Regions from separate parts of the Homo sapiens genome. Here all the other regions are linked to region 2. The links are contacts of gene promoters, found by promoter capture Hi-C in human tissues and cell types (Jung and others, 2019). All regions are on one chromosome and are shown on one strand. The core of a region is centred on a gene start or on the middle of the fragment in contact, and the rest is flanking DNA. Distances in the headings are between cores, read along the strand shown.

What was found. The method cuts DNA at HindIII sites, captures the fragments that hold promoters and counts their contacts. A contact is called where the count stands out against the background at its distance.
Region 1: a contact is called between the fragment with the promoter of YY1AP1 here and the fragment with the promoter of HCN3 in region 2, in 2 of the 25 tissues and cell types used here (adrenal gland and spleen).
Region 3: a fragment that was not itself captured here is called in contact with the fragment with the promoter of HCN3 in region 2 in 2 of the 25 tissues and cell types used here (aorta and dorsolateral prefrontal cortex).

What each region holds. Positions count from the first base shown.
Region 1 is chr1:155,685,932-155,690,246 of GRCh38, forward strand. It overlaps YY1AP1 (YY1 associated protein 1), which reads right to left and starts at 2,843. Exons shown (of 11, transcript NM_139119.3): 1 at 2,728-2,843; 2 at 2,140-2,270. It overlaps DAP3 (death associated protein 3), which reads left to right and starts at 3,160. Exons shown (of 13, transcript NM_004632.4): 1 at 3,160-3,243. It also overlaps the pseudogene LOC124904430. RefSeq lists enhancers at 2,249-2,883, 3,259-3,308 and a silencer at 2,719-2,768. The HindIII fragment of the contact is 25,099 bases long and covers 1-4,315 here.
Region 2 is chr1:155,276,083-155,280,552 of GRCh38, forward strand. It overlaps HCN3 (hyperpolarization activated cyclic nucleotide gated potassium channel 3), which reads left to right and starts at 1,381. Exons shown (of 8, transcript NM_020897.3): 1 at 1,381-1,786. The coding sequence starts at 1,509. The HindIII fragment of the contact is 20,767 bases long and covers 1-4,470 here.
Region 3 is chr1:155,620,734-155,625,240 of GRCh38, forward strand. It overlaps the pseudogene LOC100419798. Among named protein-coding and RNA genes, the nearest start is that of MSTO1, 13 kb to the left of the region's middle. The HindIII fragment of the contact is 8,414 bases long and covers 1-4,507 here.

The sequences.
Region 1 (4,315 bases), core at 1,593-4,092, 410 kb after region 2:
TTCCAGAAGAATACAGCTAAGTTGGCTTAGTTCATGCATTCTTACCTCATATTCATAGAGTTCATAGACGGGATCCTTACTACATGAAATCAGTCTTTTTTTTTTTTTTTTTTTTTTTTTTGGAGATGGAGTCTCCTCTGTGGCCCAGGCTGGAGTGCAGTGGCGCAATCTCAGCTCACTGCAAGCTCTGCCTCCCGGGTTCACGCCATTCTCCTGCCTCAGCCTCCCCGAGTAGCTGGGACTACAGGCGCCCGCCACCACGCCCGGCTAATTTTTTGTATTTTTAGTAGAGACGGGGTTTCATCCTGTTAGCCAGGATAGTCTCGATCTCCTGACCTCGTGATTCGATCTCCTGACCTCGTGATCCGCCCACCTCGGCCTCCCAAAGTGCTGGGATTACAGGTGTGAGCCACCGCGCCCTGCCGAAATCAGTCTTTCAAAGGATTCCTTCAGCCCAGCCAAGAAGTTCCAACATCCACAGGCACATATATTAACAATTACCAGTACCCAAAAACAGTTCTCTGGTTTTAATTCCACACTGCCTCCCTCAACTTAATACCTACCACCGTCAAAACAACTCCCCTCAGATTGCATCCAGGCTATTTACAGAGACACCTTGATGATCCTCACCTCAAGGCATGGACCATTCATTGAATGGTTATATTTGTTGAATGAGTGAAAAAGGATCCTTCCTCCCACAGATTTCAAGTTAAGCTGTCAGCACCCATGCAGCTGCTCTGGTACAAGTTAAGCTGTGAAAGCCTTCTCCCTCACGCATACAACCTTAAGTGTCAGAAATGCTCTGCTTCCTCCATAAATCCAAAATAATATAGCCATGGATATGCATTTCATACAGGTCAGACTCGGCAAGGACAGCTACGTTCCACATACATATCTGACACAATCGGTCTCCCCCAAATACAAGCCAACCAGTCTTATGTGCTCCTATCTTTCCAGCATACTCAGATTTGCCGACAAAGACTTCCTGAGGCACCATGGTATGCTGAATATACTGCTGCAGTAGTAGTGAAAATATGGGAGTTACAGTTCCAACTTTGTCACCAATTTAACATGCGGCCTTGGAGAAGTTCTCTCCTTATGCCTAAATTTCCTATTTTGTAAAATGGAAGAAAGCATCCTACCATTTTCACAGAGATTCAGTATCACAAAGAAACTGAAAGAGCTTTCTTATTGTATTGTAAACTATTACTATAAACCCGCGACAACAAATAAGGCCACCCATTCTTTACAGCTTTGTAGCAATGATTCTGTTAAAGATATTTTGGCCCTTCACATTTACACAACTCACTCTAACCAAAGGCACAAACTATTCTTAAGACCACAACTGGCTATGCCAAGTTTCTCCCCTCCCTGACCTCACAGACACATGCTGTACAGAACACTACCATTGCCGCTCTTTCCCAACAAGTAACTAGGGGCTCCCAATCCCTAAAATACACACACATATCAACCTGCAAGGAACCTCCCAACATTTATTCAAGAAATAAGCTAACTTATAAGGGGAACTCCATTACACTTACACAAATAAAGGCAAACTCTTACGGAAACACTTGCCATCCTCACATACACACACCAACACAGCCGCTACACACCAACAGACCATCTGTCTGCTAGACCAAAAACATCTCTTTCCATGTACAAACTAACCAGTGACATTTATTAAACGTACAACACTGAGATCATCCTGTCGTTCCCACATACCGTTCAACGCGGCAGGGACACCACAGACCTTGTCACACAGGTAAAATCCCCTCTCAAGATCGTGTCCTCGACCACTCTTATCCCTTAATTAAACACACACAAACTGGACTATGGGGGAGGCTCCGATCATGCCTACAAACACAAACTAACCTGTCAGGGGCACAGCCGACTCCGCCTCCACTCGCTTACTTCCCAGCCCCCTCCGGGAGTCTGCCTGTCAGGGACACCCCTTCACCCCGCCTGGAGGGACTTCCCGGTAGGCTCAGGATCCCCCTCCCTGCTCTCCCCTCCCCCATCTTCACCACTGCTCTCCCAGAGGTCCAGGTCCGGGAGATGACAGTGGCTCCCAGAAAGCCCAGGATTCAATCGCTGAGAGAGTGCTTAGGCCCGAATGCCGGCCCAAATCGTTCTACTCACCGTGTCGGAGGCCGAGAGCGATGAGAGTACAGGGAAGTGAGGAAGAGGGGGTGGCCGCCAGGCTCCTCCGCTTCCCTGGGTCCACCGCGGATCCCTCCCGCTTGTCAGGAGGCGGCCAGCGGGTAAGCCGACTGGCGGAAATGCGAGAGAGGAGAAGGGAAAGGTGGAGGGCTAAAGGGGCAAACTGAGAGGAGGCGGATCCCGCAACCGACACTGGGATCGTTTCCCCTCGCAAAGCGAACCCAAAATGGCGGCGGCAGCGGCGGCAGCAGAGTGGCCGCGGCAGCTCCTCCAGAGGGAGGGAGCTAAGGGCGCCTAGCGACACCCCCAACCTCCCACTCCTCCCTCCTCGCGTTCTTCCCCACGGTCCCCCGCTTCGCCCGACTCCGGCCATGTAGCGCGCACGTCAGCCCGCACGCGTACGAGTGTCTACGGGCTCGTCGCTGGCTGCTCCCACCAACCACCACCTTCGGCCGTCCTGCGAGCCAGCCATCCCGTACGCGCTCACCCACGGGAACCTCCTCGCCCAGTTCTCCACTCCCCCTCAGACCCTGTCAAGCCGGCTCCAGCGCAGGCCCTCACGCGTACCTTCAGCGGCGCGAGCCCAAGCCTTCTCCACCTCCTCTTCTCTCCTCCCCCTCCCTCCCCGCCCGCACGGCCACCAACCGCCGCCAAAGCAGCCGCCGCCAGCACCCCCACCCTACACTCCTCGCGCGTGCGCCTCCCACAGTCCCCACCGCGGGACTGTTCCATTCCTGGCGGCTGCAGGGGCAGGAGAGGAAGGGACCGGCAAAGCGAGTCTGGCTTGCCGTTTGACTGGAATTGCCAGGGTGGCCGGCCGAGTCCCATGACAACCTACCTCCCTGGGTTCGTCGCCGCGGCGCTGCGGCTCGCCTCCTCCTCCATGGGACCGCGGCGAGGGGATCGAGGGCGGCCTAGCGCCCCTCTGCCGGCCGGTGGTTGGAGGCCGCGGCGGCTGCGCGTTGAGTCGTTTCCTGCCGGATGACCCGACCCTTTTTTGCAGTCTCAGGACGGGCGCTTTGGAGCCGGCCCCAGGCAGCGTGTGTCGGTCGCCTAGTCTGGAGAACTAGTCCTCGACTCACGGTGAGGGAATGGACCGACACGGGTATTGTACCGCTGAGGGAAAGGAGCGGGACTCCGGACCTCCAGGAGGTAGGGAGTGAGGCCGGTAGACCGGCGCGCCTCCGGGGGGGATTCCTCCCGGGCGTTGAGTTGCCAACCTGGGACCCGAGGAAGTTCGGCGTGGTGGTGTGCTTTTTGTTGTTGTTAACCCTCCTCGGATTTCTCGAATTTCACACCACTGTCCATATGCGATGATGTTTGTTTGCCCTTGACGCACTTACTCATGGATGGTACTTCAGCCTCGTTAGACAGCCTGGTGATGGAGGATGAAGAAACCATGTGCTTCTCATTCAGTTCTGGACTCAGTTTCCCTTGTCTTCAGCAAGTTATTTTTGTTAGTTCCTTATCAAAAAGTGTACATAAAAATTAGGCAACTCCAAACATGCCTCCAGGGTTGGTGTGTGAAATAATAAGATAGGGCTGGGCGCGGTGGCTCACGCCTGTAATCCCAGCACTTTGGGAGGCCGAGGCAGGTGGATGACAAGGTGAAGAGATCGAGACAATCCTGGCCAACATGGTGAAACCCCGTCTCTACTAAAAATACAAATATTAGCCGGCCGTGGTGGCGGGCGCCTGTAGCCCCAGCTACTCGGGAGGCTGAGGCAGGAGAATTGCTTGAACCCGGGCGGCGGAAGTTGCAGTGAGCCGAGATCGCGCCACTGCACTCCAGCCTGGCGACAAAGCGAGACTCCGTCACACACACACACACACACACGAAATAATAATATATGTAAAGTGGAATTAGCTCCTAGGCATAGGGAAGGTGCAGAGTATTGCCGTGTTGTCATTTACAGTTCTGTTGATGTCGATAACGTTTGTGGGTGTAATGGGTAGTGTTCTGTCCCTCCAAGTCGTTAATAAAACAAAGCAGGCCGGGCGTCTTGTTAAATAGTTGTATCAATGACTTGATTTAGATTAATGAGGATATATTTTTCAAATTTATGCCTTTTACAAAATTTTTAAAGAGTAGGTAATGTCGGTGATAGATATAAAGAAAGGAAAAGATCTCCAGATGTGGAATCTTCTACTGGAT
Region 2 (4,470 bases), core at 131-2,630:
GAAAATCTGTAAATAAATAATGAGACCATGCTCATGCCTGTAATCCTAGCACTTTGGGAAGCCAAGGCAGGAAGATCACTTGAGCTCTGAGTTCAAAACCAGCCTGGGCAACATAGTGTGACCTCATCTCTAAAATAATAATAATAATGGTAGCCCTGTGACATGAGTTGCTCAAAACAGTGGTGCCCTGGCTGCTGTAAAAAAGCTCTAGAATAGACCCTACCTGAGGAAAGGAGAGTTGGAAATGTGTTCCTAGGTTTCCTAGAGAAAGCAAGATCTGAACCAACTGTTCGAAAGTGAATTGGAGGAGAATACCAGGCAGAGAAAATATTTGCAAAAGCATAGAGACAAGGCAGCACAAAGTCTTTCAGCATGATTGGGGCTGTGGCTTTCAAGAGAGGGACTGTCAGAAGAGAGACTGTTGAAACTAGGTCCAAATTTTTTGGGCCTGGTACACCATGCTAAGCAGCTTAAATGTACCCCTGTAGAAGATGGGAAAGCTTGATGGGCTTCAAGCAAGTGACACAGCCATAGTTGGATTTTAGGAAGGTAACTGGCAGGGAATGGAAGAAGAATTGGCCTGGAAGAGGTTGAAGACTCTTTTAGAGGTTTCCGAAGTAATTTAAGTGAAAAAATGCTGAGGGCTTGAAATGAGGCAGTGGTAATAAGAATTGGAGATGAAGGGGAGAATTTGAGATATTTAGGAATTTGTAGCACTTCGCATAGCACTGCAATTTACCTGTCTGTCGTTGGGCACAGATGAGCAGTGGCTTTATGGCTAGGCCTTTGTTTTTGTTTTGTTTTGTGTTGTTTTCCATTACTACATGGAGATGCTAAGACTAGGACTTTTGTATTCATTTTTGTTTCCTCAGCATCCACTCAATGACAGGCAGAGTTGCACTTGGTGAAGGCTGACAGAATGAATTAGGAAATTAAATACTAGGGGAAGCAGTTCGGAGGAGACCAAAAGACAAGAATATGCCTAGGACAGTGTTGAGAGAAGACGGGAGCAGGACAGAAGTCCCTGGGCGAGAGTGGAGAAGAATCCCAAAAGCCATTTCCACTTCTTCCATTGGTCCCCAATCCCTCTCCCTCCCAAGTCCTTCAAGCTACAAACCCGCGTCCGATTTTCCCGCCACTGCAGGGGGCTCCTCCTCCCTGGTTCTCAGTGGATGAAAGGCCAACGCTAGGCCACGCCCTCTCCCTGGCTCAGGCTGCGCTCCCCGCCTTCTTTGCTAAGCCACGCCCCTCTCGGAGTTCCTCCAGGATCCCGGCGTCCCAGCCCCGCCCGGTCTTGGCGCGGCCCTCGCCAGGGGGCGCCGCGCAGCCCGCCCGCCGCCCGCCAGTCTAGCACACACCCCCTCCGCCCCGCGCGCCGGCGATTCCGAGCCTACGACGCCTCCGCTAGAGCCCGCGGGGCTGCGCCGACTCCTGCTCTGGAGGGGTTGCGGGTACCTGATGGCCACAGAGGGCTCTAGGAGGCCGAGCGTGTAAGCGGGGTGGGCGCCATGGAGGCAGAGCAGCGGCCGGCGGCGGGGGCCAGCGAAGGGGCGACCCCTGGACTGGAGGCGGTGCCTCCCGTTGCTCCCCCGCCTGCGACCGCGGCCTCAGGTCCGATCCCCAAATCTGGGCCTGAGCCTAAGAGGAGGCACCTTGGGACGCTGCTCCAGCCTACGGTCAACAAGTTCTCCCTTCGGGTGTTCGGCAGCCACAAAGCAGTGGAAATCGAGCAGGAGCGGGTGAAGTCAGCGGGGGCCTGGATCATCCACCCCTACAGCGACTTCCGGTATTGGGGGCTTGGCGGGGAGGGCAGGGTACATCAATCCCACCCTCGCGGGCAGCGACACCGGGACCCGGCCCGCCCCACCCTCCACGGTCACTTCATTTCCAGCCCGGGGTCCCTTGGTGGGGCGGGAGAGTCACTTGCACCAGTCTAGCCTGGGAATTCCTGGGCGGGTATCCCCTGCCGGAGGTCCTCCGTGCCTGGACAGGCTGGGGGCACCAGAAGGGGCAAGCAGACATCAGGGGATCTCCAGAGACCTGGATTTCCTCTTTCAGGAACCCGGGACCCCATCCGGACCAAAGGAACTACCAGAGTTTGGGACCCCTGCCTCCTCCAGTCCTGCTTGCTGGAGATCTAGGAAATTATATTCTAAGTATCGGGGCCAGTCTGAGGGAGAAGCCGAGCTCCGCCATCTCCCATCCCCACACCCGCTCCTTAGCACCTGCCTAGTTCAGCATGACAGACTACCAGGAAAAATAGGGACGCTGAAGGGGGCGGGGGGTCCAGACCTCAGCTCTGGTCGCTGTCCCTAGTGCTGAAGGCGGGGGCGGCGGGGCGGGGCCGAGACTCAGAGTGACTGAGGCGGCAAAGCAGGGGCAGGACCACCACCCAGGTGACTCCCAGAGAAGGAACAGAGGGTGGGGGTGGGGCCATTTCACAGTCTCCGTCAGGGTGTACCTCTACATCAAGGTCGCTAGGGGAAGACAGCAGCCCTGTCCTTGGGGGAAATGAAGGACAGCTCTTGGATGAGGCAGGGATGTGTGCAAAGCACCTAACCTGGGGAACTAAAGAAGCAGAGAGGAAGAGGTGTGAATCTGGAGCCTCGAAATACAGTTGTAGACCCAGACATTATCTTGAATCCACATATATACACACTCCCTCTATGTCTCTCTTCCTCCCATTGTTCCTTTCACTCCTGTCTTTGCTGCCTCGTTCCCACCCAGCCAGTGCGCCTTTTCTAGTCTCCTGTGGATCTCACTCTCTTCCCTCAGTTCACTCGCAGACGGATCCCCAGAAGCCTGGTATCCCTCTGATTGTGCTTCTCCATTCTCTATACTACATCACCCGCCAGGCTTGTGACCCACCTGTGAGTCAGGCTGTGAAGATGCTTTCATGGCTAGGCGAACCCTCTTTCCCTCCCCTCTCTTAGTGTCTCACAATACAGGATTCCTCCTCAGCAGCCGAGGAGAGAAAAGAAGAATGGCCGAGGGTTTTTGTTTATTGAAAACATACAGTCTAAGGGGCTTCCCAGAGGCCCGGACTTGAGGAAGTTTCTTTCAGGGCTGAAAATTGATTTTGCAGTCCGAGTCAGAAGGGGCTAGCTCCTGAGTTGACACTGGGATTAGGTGTGTCCTAGAATTAAAACCACCATAGGTAACTGAGTCCCTGAGATTTTCCTGTGCCATTCTCTGAATGAGGGCTTCACACAGTTCCCTCTTGACCTCTTCTTTCCACGGTGTCTGCCACAGCAATGTCACTCACCCCTGCCCATGCCTCTGCCTGTGCTCAGCCAGAGTCCCAGTGGACACAGGGAGGCCAGAGGAGGAAAGGTATGCAGAACTCAAGCCTTGCTGCTTCATGATCTCCTGTGGAGCTTCTCTGTGTGTGCAGCCCTGTTTGAGGTTCTGTGGAGGGGGAAGGGCATCCCTGGAAAGCTCAATTCAGAGGAAGGCAGGATAGACCACCCCACCCTGAGACATGGATGAGCAAACCTCAGCAGAGGAACAGGATCCGTGGGTCCAACTGTGTTGGAGAAGAGGAATGGGGTGGAGAAGGCTGGGGAGGGCATGAGGTCCTAGACTAGAATGGGCAGATAACTGGAGATGGGGGAAGCAGCAGCCTTTTCAGAAATCTGGGGATAAAGAGTGAGTGAGTCATAATACCAACTAGTGCCTGTACCACACTGTCACATCTATTGTCTCCATGTAAATGTTTTCAGCAATGCTGTGAGATTAGCACAGGATACTTTAGCTTTTTTTTTTAACCTTAAAAATATTTAGCAATGGTGAGGTAAATGATATATAGTAGGGATATGTATGTAGATGGAAGAGTAATTTTATTTATTTATTTATTTATTTTTATATTTGTTTATTTATTTTGAGAAGGAGTCTCACTGTGTCGCCCAGGCTGGAGTGCAATGGCACAATTTTGGCTCACTGCAACCTCCGCCTCCCGGGTTCAAGCGATTCTTCTGCATCAGCCTCCTGAGTAGCTGAGATTACAAGCGCATGCCACCACGCCTGGCTAATTTTTGTATTTTTAGTAGACGTGGGGTTTCACCATTTTGTCCAGGCTGGTCTCGAACACTTGACCTCGTGATCCACCCACCTCAGCCTCCCAAAGTGCTGGGATTACAGGTGTGAGCCACCACACCGGCAAATTTTTATTTATTTATTTATTTTATTTATTTATTTATTTTGAGACAGAGTCTCACTCTCGCCCAGGCTAGAGGGCAGTGGAGCGGTTTCAGCTCACGGCAACCTTCACTCCCAGGTTCAAGCAATTCTCCTGCCTTGGCCTCCTGAATATCTGGGATTGGGATTACAGGTGCGCGCCACCACACCTGGCTAATTTTTTTTTTTTTTTTTTGAGACGGAGTCTCGCTCTGTCGCCCAGGCTGGAGTGCAGTGGCACAATCTCGGCTCACTGCAAGCTCCGCCTCCCGGGTTCACGCCATTCTCCTTCCT
Region 3 (4,507 bases), core at 1,258-3,757, 350 kb after region 2:
GGCACATGCCACCATACCTGGCTAATTTTTGAATTTTTAGTAGAGATGGGGTTCCGCCATGTTGGCCAGGCTGGTCTCAAACTTCTGACCTCAGGTTATCCACCCGCCTTGGCCTTTCAAAATGCTGGGATTACAGGCATGAGCCACCGCGCGTGGCCTATTTTTTTATTTTTTATTTTGAGATGGAGCTGATCTCGGCTCACCGCAACCTTTGCCTCCTGGGTTCAAGCAATTCTCCTGCCGCAGCCTCCCAAGTAGCTGGGATTACAGGCACCCACCACCATGCTGAGCTAATTATCTCTTTTTTTTTTTTTTTCTGAGACAGAGTCTCACTCTGTTGCCCAGCCTGGCGTGCAGTGGCACAATCTTGGCTCATTGCAACCTCCACTGGGTTCAAGTGATTCTTCTGCCTCAGCCTCCTGAGTAAATGGGATTACAGGCATGTGCCAACACACTCGGCTAATTTCGTATTTTTAGTAGAGATGGGGTTTCACCATGTTGGCCAAACTGGTCTTGAACTCCTGACCTCAAGTGATCCACCTGCCTCGGCCTCCCAAAGTCCTTGGATTACAGATGTGAGCCACCACACCCAGCCTTAATTATCTCTCTCTCTTTTTTTAATCCTGTTTACCTCTCTTCGGATGCTCTAGGGGCCCTCTGTAGCTGTAGCATTCAAAAGCCAGGGGTCAGGAAAGAGAATCTTGCAACTGAAATTTGATTTTGGGAAGCCTGTTGAATATGTTACAGGTTTTTGTTTTTGTTTGTTTTTGAGACAGAGTTTTGCTCTTGTTGCCCAGGCTGAAGTGCTGTGGCACAATCTCGGCTCACTGCACCCTCTGCCTTCCAGGCTCAATCTATTCTCCTGCCTCAGCCTCTTGAGTAGCTGGGATTACAGGCATGCGCCACCACGCCCAGCTAATTTTGTATTTTTAGTAGAGACAGGGTTTCCCCATGTTGGTCAGGCTGGTCTCCAACTCACGACCTCAGGTGATCCACCTGCCTCGGCCTCCCAAAGTGCTGGGATTATAGGCGTGAGCCACCATGACTGGCCCTTACAGGTTTAAAACTCTTGATATTATGAAATAGAATTTTAGATTACCATAAGTCATTTGTTTTGCCAAAAGGATGACTCAAAAATTTGAAAAAGCAAAATGCTTTGATTAGCCTTTACTATTACATAAAAATCCTGTTCAAGAGAGAAAGCCAAATTTTACCCTTGCATAAGTCTGCTATTAATGTTAACCCCAATTTTAATGAAATCCTATAGACAATTCTATTTAATCTTTTTTTTTTTTTTTTTTTTTGGCAGTGGCAAGATTTATTAAAGTGAAAGTAAAGTTTCCACATGGTGGAAGGGGACCTGAAAGGGCTGCCATTTTTGGCTTGGGTGTCTTATACTTATATCCCCTTATGACCCCTCCCCTTTTTCTTTTTCTGTCCTATAGAATTAGCTTATTTTCTATCCACTTGTGGGTAGGTGGGCATGATTGGTTAAAAACATCAGGCTGCAGCTAGAGCTTAAACTCCCTATATGATTGGTTGAAGGTTCAATCCCTTAGTTTGCAGCTATAACTCATTTTGGCTTAGGGGAAAGTTCCCTTAGGGAAGTCCCTATTGACCCAGGAAGTCCAGCCAACTTAGCCACTTAGTCCCTCAGTCCCTCCTCTCAAAAGGAAAGCCCAAGTGCCGTTGGGAAGTTGGGCAACAATCATTCTAGCTACTTCCTGCTGAGCTGGGGTGTAGAAGGGGCTCTGCAGTTGAGCCTTCCTCAGGAGGGGAGTCTTCAGTGTCATGGTGCAAGAACAGATTGGTGGGTCAGTCTAGGGGTCCTCGATAGCAGGTGCTAGTGGTGGTCATTTGGGGCTCCATCTGTAGAATCATTTGCAGTTTCATGGATTCTATTCTGGAAGAGACAAATTTTACAAGGAGGTTAAAAATGCAGGGTCCAGAGATAAGCAACATCACAATAGCCACCAAGGGTCCCAAGAAGGGGAGAAACCAGGGCATCCATTGGTTGACAATACTCCAAAGTCCTGTGTCTTGGAGCTCTTGTGCCTGGCACTGTATCTGGTCTCGAAGCTCCTTAACCTTTTTTGGTGACAATTCTGTATTGATTAACAAAATAGTAACACTCTTCTCCTAGAAAAAGACAGGTTCCACTTCTTTCAGCTGTTAATAAATTTAAGGCTTTCCAATTCTGGAGGGCTACTGCTGCTAAAGAGTTAAGCTAGCTTTGTAAGGTGACCAGTGAATCTGCAACTCGTTCCATGTCATCATTTAACTCTTGTGATAATTTGTAATATGTTGGGGTGATCAGACCCAACACCAGGCTGTGGGGGCTACGAAGTCCGGCGGAGTCAAAGGAATGAGATAAGTTAAGAGTGCAAGAAGTGGGACCAGGGGGTCAATGCTAGTATGGAGGCTGTGAAGGCCCTGAGCTCTTGAAGCCTGCACTATTTATTGGTGATCAAACAAAGAAGCAGGTGGTGAGGATGTGGGGGTTCAAAGAAAGCAGTGTATCAAGTGTGTGATCTACAGCTGTGACAGTTTAGCATTTTCTTTGAAGCATATGGAACATGTTCTGCTACTTGAGATAATGGGGAACATGTTCTTCTAGTTTAAGACACAATCGATCTATGAGCCTGGGAGGGCTAGAAACAAGGAGCCAGCAAATCTAGACACATTCCAGAGGCCACAAGGGGTTTTATGCCCTGAGCCCTGGATTCCATTCAAGCCATGAGGGGTTTTATGCCCTTGGCTTAGAGTGTGGTGCAGCAGGGCAGCCTTTCACCCTTTGGCACAGAGCTTGGTGTTCCAAAGGCCACAAGGGGTTTTAGACCCTGGACCCTGGACCCTGGACCTGTTCTAAGACTCTTTTACATTATATCAGACATGCAAGCCCTGCCTCAGCTTTTTCCCCAACACTCAGCTTTTTTCCCAACACTCAGCTTTTCCCCAACAGTAAGAGAATTGGGTGGAGGTGGTAATGCCTCCAATGCCAGTTCCTAGACCTCCTAGTATCCTAGCCCTGAAAATGAATGGCAGGATAGTCGAGGTATGCTGAGATGCTGGGTTTGACAGATCTTTAAAGGCAAATAAAAATTGCGAGTTAGGATGCAGAGGGATGCAGAAGAAAGCGTCCATAAGATCTAGGACTGTAAACCATTCTGCTTCCTCTGGTATCTGGGAGAGTAGAGTATAAGGATTAGGTACAACTGGATTGTTGGGAACAAGCCCCTCCAAATCTGGTCATAAACTGGCCCCAAAACTGGCCATAAACAAAATATCTGCAGCACTGTGACATGTTCATGATGGCAATAAAGCCCATGCTGGAAGGTTGTGGGTTTACCGGAATGAGGGCAAGGAATACCTGGCCCACCCAGGGCAGAAAACCACTTAAAGGCATTCTTAAGCCACAAACAATAGCATGAGTGATCTGTGCCTTAAGGACATGCTCCTGCTGCAGTTAACTAGCCCAACCTATTCCTTTAATTTGGCACATCCCTTCATTTCCCATAAGGGATACTTTTAGTTAATTTAATATCTGTAGAAACAATGCTGATGACTGGCTTGCTGTTAATAAATACGTGGGTAAATCTCTGTTCAGGGCTCTCAGCTCTGAAGGCTGTGAGACCCCTGATTTCCCACTTCACACCTCTATATTCTGTATGTGTGTCTTTAATTCCTCTAGTGCTGCTGGGTTAGGGTCTCCCTGACCAAGCTGGTCCTGGCACTGGATACAGGGGAACAACTGCCTCAATGATAATTCAGAGGTCTTTCACTAACCTCCACTGTCTGTTGGGTTTTTGTATGCCTAGAATAGGACTGTTGCCTGGACTGTTGCATGGCTTTACTAATCTCTGTGCTTGTAGGTCTTTGACAATCTTTTGTAACCCTTGTTGGGCTTCTGGTCAGAGGGGGTACTGCTTTGATAAGGAAAGAAAGTAGGATCCTTTAATTTAACTTGAACTGGACAAGCATTTTTTGCTTGTCCATACTGCTCTTGCTCTTCCTCTGCCCAGACTTCAGGATTAACTCCCTCCTTGAGTAGGGCAGCAAACAGGTATTCCTTCTCCTATATTCAAGTATATAATGGCCCCTGCTTTAGCTAATATGTCTCTCCCTAGTAAAGGAGTAGGGCTCTCAGGCATAATAAGAAAGGCATGTGAGAATAATAAGGTTCCCCAGTCACAATTTAGGGGGTGGGAGAAATACCTAGTGACTGAGTGTCCTAAGACCCCTTTGATGGTGAAAGACCTGGAGGATAGTTGTCTGGGACAGAAGAGTAAAACTGACAGGGCCACGCCATTGTCCAGGAGGAAGTTAGTTTCCTGGTCCTCACTGGTTAAGCTTACCTGGGGCTCTGTGATGGTGATGGCATTGGGCTGGTGCCTGCCCTGGGCACCCTCAGTCTTGTTGGACCATCTGGTTAGTGGCCTCTGGCCCAGAGGACCTTCACCCTAAGGGGCAGTGTGCCTTCCAGGGATCTCCCTGGCACAAGGGACAT